2 separate regions of the Homo sapiens genome follow, and region 1 is linked to region 2. Evidence: promoter capture Hi-C in human tissues and cell types (Jung and others, 2019). All regions are on one chromosome and are shown on one strand. Each heading gives the region's core, a stretch centred on a gene start or on the middle of the fragment in contact. The rest is flanking DNA. Distances are from core to core; before and after follow the strand shown. Region 1 has its middle 3.2 kb from the start of TRL-CAA6-1. Region 2 holds the start of DUSP12 (dual specificity phosphatase 12).

Region 1 (4,150 bases), core at 1,414-3,913, 140 kb after region 2:
CAGCCTGCCGAGTGCCTGCGATTGCAGGCGCACGCCGCCACGCCTGACTGGTTTTCGTATTTTTTTGGTGGAGACGGGGTTTCGCCGTGTTGGCCGTGCTGGTCTCCAGCTCCTAACCGCGAGTGATCTGCCAGCCTCGGCCTCCCAAGGTGCCGGGATTGCAGACGGAGTCTCGTTCACTCAGTGCTCAATGTTGCCCAGGCTGGAGTGCAGTGGCGTGGTCTCGGCTAGCTACAACCTCCACCTCCCAGCCGCCTGACTTGGCCTCCCAAAGTGCCGAGATTGCAGCCTCTGCCCGGCTGCCACCCCGTCTGGGAAGTGAGGAGCGTCTCTGCCTGGCCTCCCATCGTCTGGGATGTGAGGAGCCCCTCTGCCCGGCTGCCCAGTCTGGGAAGTGAGGAGAGCCTCTTCCTGGCCTCCATCCCATCTAGGAAGTGAGGAGCATCTCTGCCCGGCTGCCCATCGTCTGAGATGTGGGGAGCGCCTCTGCCCCGCCGCCACGTCTGGGATGTGAGGAGCACCTCTGCCCGGCCGCGACCCCGTCTGGGAGGTGAGGAGCGTCTCTGCCCAGCCGCCCCGTCTGAGAAGTGAGGAGCCCCTCCGCCCGGCAGCCGCCCCGTCTGGGAAGTGAGGAGCGCCTCTGCCCGGCAGCCACCCCATCTGGGAGGGAGATGGGGGGCGACTCTGCCCTGCCACCGCCCCGTCCGGGAGGTGGGGGGTGCCTCTGCCCGTCTGCCCCTTCTGGGAAGTGAGGAGCCCCTCTGCCCAGCCGCCACCCCGTCTGTGAGCTATACCCAACAGCTCGTTGAGAACGGGCCATGATGACGATGGCGGTTTTGTGGAATAGAAAAGGGGGAAATGTGGGGAAAAGATAGAGAAATCAGATTGTTGCTGTGTCTGTGTAGAAAGAAGTAGACATGGGAAACTCCATTTTGTTCTGTACTAAGAAAAATTCTTCTGCCTTGGGATGCTGTTGATCTATGTATGACCTTACCCCCAACCCTGTGCTCTCTGAAACATGTGCTGTGTCCACTCAGGGTTAAATGGATTAAGGGCAGTGGAAGATGTGCTTTGTTAAACAGATGCTTGAAGGCAGCATGCTCGTTAAGAGTCATCGCCACTCCCTAATCTCAAGTACCCAGGGACACAAACACTGCGGAAGGCCGCAGGGTCCTCTGCCTAGGAAAACCAGAGACCTTTGTTCACTTGTTTATCTGCTGACCCTCCCTCCACCATTGTCCTATGACCCTGCCAAATCCCCCTCTGTGAGAAACACCCAAGAATGATCAATTAAAAAAAAATAAAAATAAAAGAATAATTGAGGTCAAAAGTACAAAACGAGGTGGTGAAATAAATTCAAATATATCAGCTATTTTTTTTTGGAGGGTGGGTGGACAGAGTCTCTGTCACCCAGGCTGGAGTGCAGTGGTAGCATCTTGGCTCACTGCAATCTCCACCTTCCCGGTTCAAGCGATTCTCCCACCTCAGCCTCCTGGGGACTACAGGTGCATGCCGCCACACCCACCTAATTTTTAGTAGAGATGCGGTTTCACTATGTTGGCCAGGCTGGTCTTGAACTCCTGACCTCAAGTGATCCACCTGCCTCAGCCTCCCAAAGTGCTGGGATTACAGGTGTAAGCCACCATGACCCGGCCTATAACAGTAATTATAATAATGCAACTGAACAAAACCTTCCAGTTAAAAGATAAAGTGAATTTTTAAGATCAGTTTTATTCTGTTTAGAAGAATGACATTAAAATGTAAAGAAACAGAAAGACTAAATGGAAAAGGGAATGCCAGGAATATTCTAACAAAAAGAAAGTTGGCATATAGCTATACAATATCAGACAAAATAAAGTTTAAGAAATAATGCATCATTAGGGATGAAGATGGTCATCATATAATAAAAGATTAAACTACTGATGAATATATAACAGATAAAATGGCATTAAAATATGAAAGCAAGAATTAGGCCTACAAGGGAAAATGAACAAATCCGTCGCCACAGTGAGAGAATTCCGCATACTTCAACCCTTACTAGATCAAACAGAAAAAAATTATTAAGCGTGTGTCTCTTTTTCTTATTTACTTTTATTAAGCATATGAATGCAATTAACAAGCTCAATTTAACAGATATATATATATAGAACTGCAATCAATAATTATTAGTTGTACATTCTTCTCAAACTCACATGGGATATTATGAAAACTGACTTTATATGAGGCTGATAAGTTTCTTTTATTTATTTATTTATTTTTTTTTGAGATGGAGACTTGCTCTGTCACCCAGGCTGGAGTATGATGGCACTATCTCAGCTCACTGCAACCTCCGCCTCCTGGGTGCAAGTGATTCTCCTGCCTCAGCCTCCTAAGTAGCTGGGATTACAGGTGCGTGTGCCACCACACCTGGCTAATATTTTTCATTTATTTATTTTTTATTTTTAGTAGAGATGGGTTCACCATGTTGGTCAGGCTGGTCTTGAACTCCTGATCTCAAGTGATCCACCCATCTCGGCCTCTCAAAGTGCTGGGATTACAGGCTTGAGCCACCGCACCTGGCTAAGGCCAGTAAGCTTCAACATATGTCATGGAATCAGTACTATATGAAGCACATTTTCTGAACATAAGGAATTTAACTCAGAAATCAATAACAAAAAATAACTTTTAAAAGCCTTCATATATTTGGAAATTTAAAAAAACAAAATTTATGGAATGCAGTGAATCCTGTTATAATGGGGAAATGTATAGCCAGTGGCTATTCTGATTGGTCAGTGCTATATCTGTTAACTCCTCCACAAAAAGAATTATCTTCTGGGTTTTGCTTTTGGCTTTCCCTAGACATCCCAAAAAGCCAGCCCCCATACCTTGGCTGGCCACAGGGAACTCTAGGTGGCCACTTCCAGAAAAACCACTCAGTGAATCCCAACGTGAAGGGCTAACTGAAGCCAGCCTATGGCAGGTGTTGGTTATAGGTCCCTGTCCCTATATGTCTCCCAAGACAGGGCAGCCTGAACACTGATCCACTTAGCGATTGCGCAGTGTCAATCTGGCCCCACACAGCTGTGGCTAGCCACTACCAGTCAGTACTACCCTTTGGTTCTTCTTGCCTGTGGGCACTGCAGCCTCTGTGGGACCTTAGTACTAAGAGTCAGAGAATATCAGGGAGAACAGGTGGGCAGTAACAGGTTACATTGGAGGCATAAGCTAGATGCTGTGGCCTCCACTGGCACAGCTGGTCCTCTTGTTACAGGATGGAGGCTGTGGGGCAGATGAGAGCATAAGGGAGGTTTGGAGCTAAAGGGTGGCTGAGGTGCAGATGTTCTTTCTTCCCATCCCTGTTGAATTTCACCTCCATTTTAGGGAATGAGACTTAAAATCTCAAACATCATCCCACTACAGGCATTAACAATGGACCCTCCTGGCAATGTTTATACATTTGTAATATATGTTTATATATTAACCCATTGAAGAATTAAAATTATCATCATTATCCTCTTTTACAGGAGGAAATGGAGACAAAGAGAGCCAAGATTCAAACACAGGAAGCACAACAGAGCCCATGCACTTAATCTTCACACTGTGTTGCCTCATCCAGCCTGAATGGTTAGGGTCAATCTAATTATATATGTCATTCCAATAAATGACTTTTGTATAATAAAAGATAACGGATACATAAAACCCTCAGACAGTATTTTAAAGGCTGGAAAATTTGTGAATACAATTGCTGTTAGTTCAACCGGTGACAAAGAACTCAGTATCATAAACAGCATGTTAGGAAAAAGTTTCAACTTATCGAGACTACAAGTCATCTAATGACTATCAGTTTATTAGGAAATTATCAAAAGAGTTTGATTCCCAGCCAAACTGAATCCCTGCTTCTCTCCCATGTAACTCAGTTCCAAATCAAATGCACAGTCCAGTACATCTGAGCTTTTTGCCAGCAGAGAGGGGGCCCGAATGAGTTGCTTACTATGAGGCCACTTGGGGGGGGGGGTTTATGGACTGGAAACGGGAAGGAATGTGCTTAGTTTGCCGGCTGTTTTGGAGAATGCGTGATTTAGGTTGGCCTGGGACCTTGGCCTGGGACTAATTAGAAAGCTTGGCCCGGGACCTTAGCCTAGGACCTCGGCCGGGAATAATTAGGGGCTTA
Region 2 (3,905 bases), core at 284-2,783:
GTTGGAGACCAGCCTGGGCAACAAAGTGAGACCCCACCTCTACAAAAAATTAGCCGGATGTGGTGGGGTCTGTAGTCCCAGCTACTCTGGAGGCCGAGGCAGGAGGTTCACTTGAGCCTGGGAGGTTGAGACTGCAGTGAGCCGTAATTACGCTACTACACTGTAGCCTGGGTGACAGAGCAAGACCCTATATCAAAATAAAAATAAATAAAACAAAACAAAAACAAATCCAATCTCCTTTCATCTTAGCATTCAGGGACCTCAAAATCTGGTCCCAGACTTCTTTTGATTTCATCACTATCTTCTTTTATGTGCTCAATAAATTTAAACGATTATTATACTCCAATCCAACCAAGAACTGCTTAGGGATTCCCATTTTCTTTTTTTGGGGGGAGGGATGGAGTCTCGCTCTGTTGCCCAGGCTGGAGTGCTGTGGCATGACCTCGGCTCACTGCAACCTCCGCCTCCCAGGTTCAAGTGATTCTCCTGCCTCAGCCTCCCGAGTAGCTGGGACTACAGGCGAGAGCCACCACGCCCGGCTAATTTTTGTATTTTTGGTTTCACCATATTAGCCAGCCTGATCTCGAACTCCTCACCTTGTGATCCTCCTGCCTCCCAAAGTGCTGGGATTACAGGCGTGAGCCACCGCGCCCTGCGGGATTCCCATTTTCTTTTTGTCTTTGCTGCAACCATCTCCTCCCTAGGCAAAGCCCAGGGATCCTTTAGATCCAAACCAATTCATCTCTTCATCAACCACCCGCCACCCATCCCAAACAAAAACATTTAACCCTAAATCTTTGTAAATCCCGTTTACAAGACACCAAGCAACCTAATCTGCATTACAATAATCGGGGTGGGTGTCTAGCTTCTCCAACAGAGCTGTAAACTCCTTAGGGTGTAGGTAATTTGTCATTTATCAGATGACACCTCCCCCGCCCTCTGCTGCTGCAGGAAGAACCAACTAAAGCATGAATGAATGAAAGCCTGCACACACCAGGGGCCCGCCTCAACCCTCCTCCTCTCTTGGAAACACGCCTCCTGCGGGAGGCAGCGGGAGGAGGTTCACGCGGCATGACCGCGCTCTTGTCCTCCCGACGGCCTCGGAAGGTAAGGGGCGACGGGGGCCGGCTGGAAGCTTGGCGGGGCACGTCACCCACTGACCCGGCCACTCACCAGTGCACCAACACCGCACGGCCCTCAGCGCGGGCCTGACCGATGAAGGCCACGCACCGGTCCAGATGGCTGAGTAGGTCCGTCTCGGGTTTGTCCAGCGCTGGCACGAAGAGGCGCCATAGATCCTCGACCCCAGGCCCCGCCTTGAAGCTGGGCTCCTCCGAGTCCACTGTTAGCACGGCCGTGATGCCCGCTTCCCTCAGGTGATCTGGCTCCGCGACGGCCGCGGCCCCACCGAAATACAATCCTGGCTGCACTTCCAGCATCTGCCCGGCACAGCTGACTCTGCTGGCGCTGGGGTTGCTGAGCTCGCAGCCATCACTCGGGCCCGGAGCCTCCAACATGGCCGCGCCCAGAGACAAGGCGGCTTCCTGCCCTACCATCGAGTAGACTCCGGCTAGAACATCCTTCCCCTGGGACTCGCCAGCCTCGGCGGCTCTGCTGCTCCCTCGGAGGACCACGTCGGCCGCAGGAATCTGGACTTATCGCTGAGGGGCGGAGCTTCGGCCCCATTCAGCGCGGCCTTTCCACCCTTGTTCCCTCTGACCCCTACCCCCAAAGTTGATGGTGAAGGATAAGCTTCCCCAAATACAGGGTTTCTCGAGCTCTTAGTATTGAAATTTTCAGGAAAGAGACATCAGGAGCAGCTGAACTCAAATGTGAAATAAATGTCGCACCAGCTGAATCAGAAGCATCATTTTATGCATTTGAAGTAAAATTTTTTTCAATATTATGGAGCCATCTTTACTGTGCATTTCATGATTATTTTTCCTTTTTCTGCCCAATTTCATTATTGGGGTGTGAATCCTTGTTGATGTTTACTGTCTATTTATTTTGAAGATACTAATCCTATATTTTTGTAAGTCAATGTCCTCCGGCCAGGACTACAAGAAACCAACTTTAATTAAGCAAGTTGGTTTTATTACTCAGTCATGAGTTATGGAGAATTTCAGGGCATCTCAGCACGAGGATGTTAGGAAGATCCTCTACAGATTTTGGGCTTTTATTTGGGGATTTTGGAAAGGGTTGAAGGAAGCAGGCTTTGCTCCAGACTGAATGCTGCAGGAAGATACTCAGTACAGTGAGTATATTTTATATATCTTTTGTATAGGGAGGACAGGTGAGAGAGATACTAAAGCTGTAATTGGTCAAGAAGTAGCAGCTATAGTACTGGTATAAAGATAGATACATCGACGTGTCTCTATTCTGGAACAGAACAAACCCTTGCGTGTGGAGTCCTAATTAGGGAAAAGGAGTCAGGCTGGCTGGACGAAGGGAAGCAAAAGGAGAAAGCAGACAAGCCATAAGTCTGCCTTTCTTCGTGGTCCAGGACACATAGCCCTGCTGTGCAAATAACTCACAATCTGCCTGTGCCCAGCCATCACCAGACCCTCAGCTGATAGAAAAATGGAAGTTAGTTCACTGCAACCCTGGCATTATTAGTACTGCACAAAGCCCTCTTCCACCCACAACATAAGCACCATTCTACAAAATCCCCAGCAAGCCTTTGTTTCCTAGCAGTCAGCTTCTCTCTTGCTGACCTGCCTGTTGCACCCTTGCAATGTATTTTCATACTTTATCTAATAAACCTGCCTTTCTTTACCTACAACTGTGTTGGTAAATTCTTCCTACCACCCATGTCACCAGCCCAGAAAGCTGCTAATCACCTGCAACACTGCATATATGTTAGAATAATCTTCAAAAAGAGTGCCAAGACCACACAATGGAAAAAGGACAATCTCCTCAACAGTGTTGGGAAAAACTAGATATCCACATGCAAAAGAATGAAGATGGACCTTTACCTTGGACCATACACAAAAAATAACTCCAAATAGATTAAAGACCTAAAAATATAACATTCTTAGTAGAAAACATAGGGGGAAAGCTTCATGGCCTTGGATTTGATAAAAATGTTGAAACAGGTAAGGGTTAATGGTCTCATTGTCTAAGGTGTTATCCGAACTTGTCTAACGACCGAGAAAACTAAGGAGCATGGGCACAAAGAGTGAGGTTGAAGCAAAAGTTTAATAAGCAAAAGAAGAAAGCTCTCCACAGCAGAGAGGGGAGCCCAAGTGGGGTGCCATTTTTACAGCTGAATTCAAAACCTATTATAAGAAACTCCTCTCATCTCTATAGTTGTTTGAGTAACTTCTCTTATGAATAAATCTGTCTGTGCAACTTCCCTTATCTTCTGCCGATGTGGGTATGTCTCTAGGCAAGCACAAAGCGTGGGTTCTCTTGTTTGTATCACTGTAGGTTTGTTTTAGGTAAGCCCCCCTCCTTCCTGTGCAAGTTCCCACGGAGTCCACTGTGTATATACCTGAAAAGGGGAGGAAAGTTTTTCCTGGGAGCTCGCCAATTACACGAAGAATGAAAAGCGTCTGTGCTGGACCCTACCTGCTTATCTGTGCAGGTGCAGCCTGAGTTTTGCCTAAGCTGCTCTATTTTGTTTGTAGCTGTGATTTTTCAGGCAGACTGCTTCTCCAAGGGCTAGCCTTAGCTGTCTACCTAACTGATTTTTCCTTTTCTTCTCCCTCAATTTTTTGGATAAAATACCAAAAGCACAGGCAACAAAAGCGAAAATAGACAAATGGGACTATATCAAATTTTAAAGTGTCTGCATATCAAGCAAAACAGTCAATAGAGAGAAAAGGAATTTGTATGGAATGGGAAAAAATAATTGCAAAGCATATATCTGATACGTTAATATGCAGAACATATAAAAAACTCCT

What was found. Contacts are between HindIII fragments. The study calls those that stand out against the background at their distance.
Region 1: a contact is called between a fragment that was not itself captured here and the fragment with the promoter of DUSP12 in region 2, in 1 of the 25 tissues and cell types used here (H1 embryonic stem cells).

The regions. Positions count from the first base shown.
Region 1 is chr1:161,613,117-161,617,266 of GRCh38, reverse strand. No RefSeq gene overlaps it. Among named protein-coding and RNA genes, the nearest start is that of TRL-CAA6-1, 3.2 kb to the right of the region's middle. RefSeq lists an enhancer at 4,093-4,150. The HindIII fragment of the contact is 6,825 bases long and covers 1-4,150 here.
Region 2 is chr1:161,747,414-161,751,318 of GRCh38, reverse strand. It overlaps DUSP12 (dual specificity phosphatase 12), which reads right to left and starts at 1,533. Exons shown (of 6, transcript NM_007240.3): 1 at 1,174-1,533. The coding sequence starts at 1,517. RefSeq lists enhancers at 517-1,163, 1,225-1,734, 3,306-3,355, 3,456-3,535. The HindIII fragment of the contact is 4,457 bases long and covers 1-2,405 here.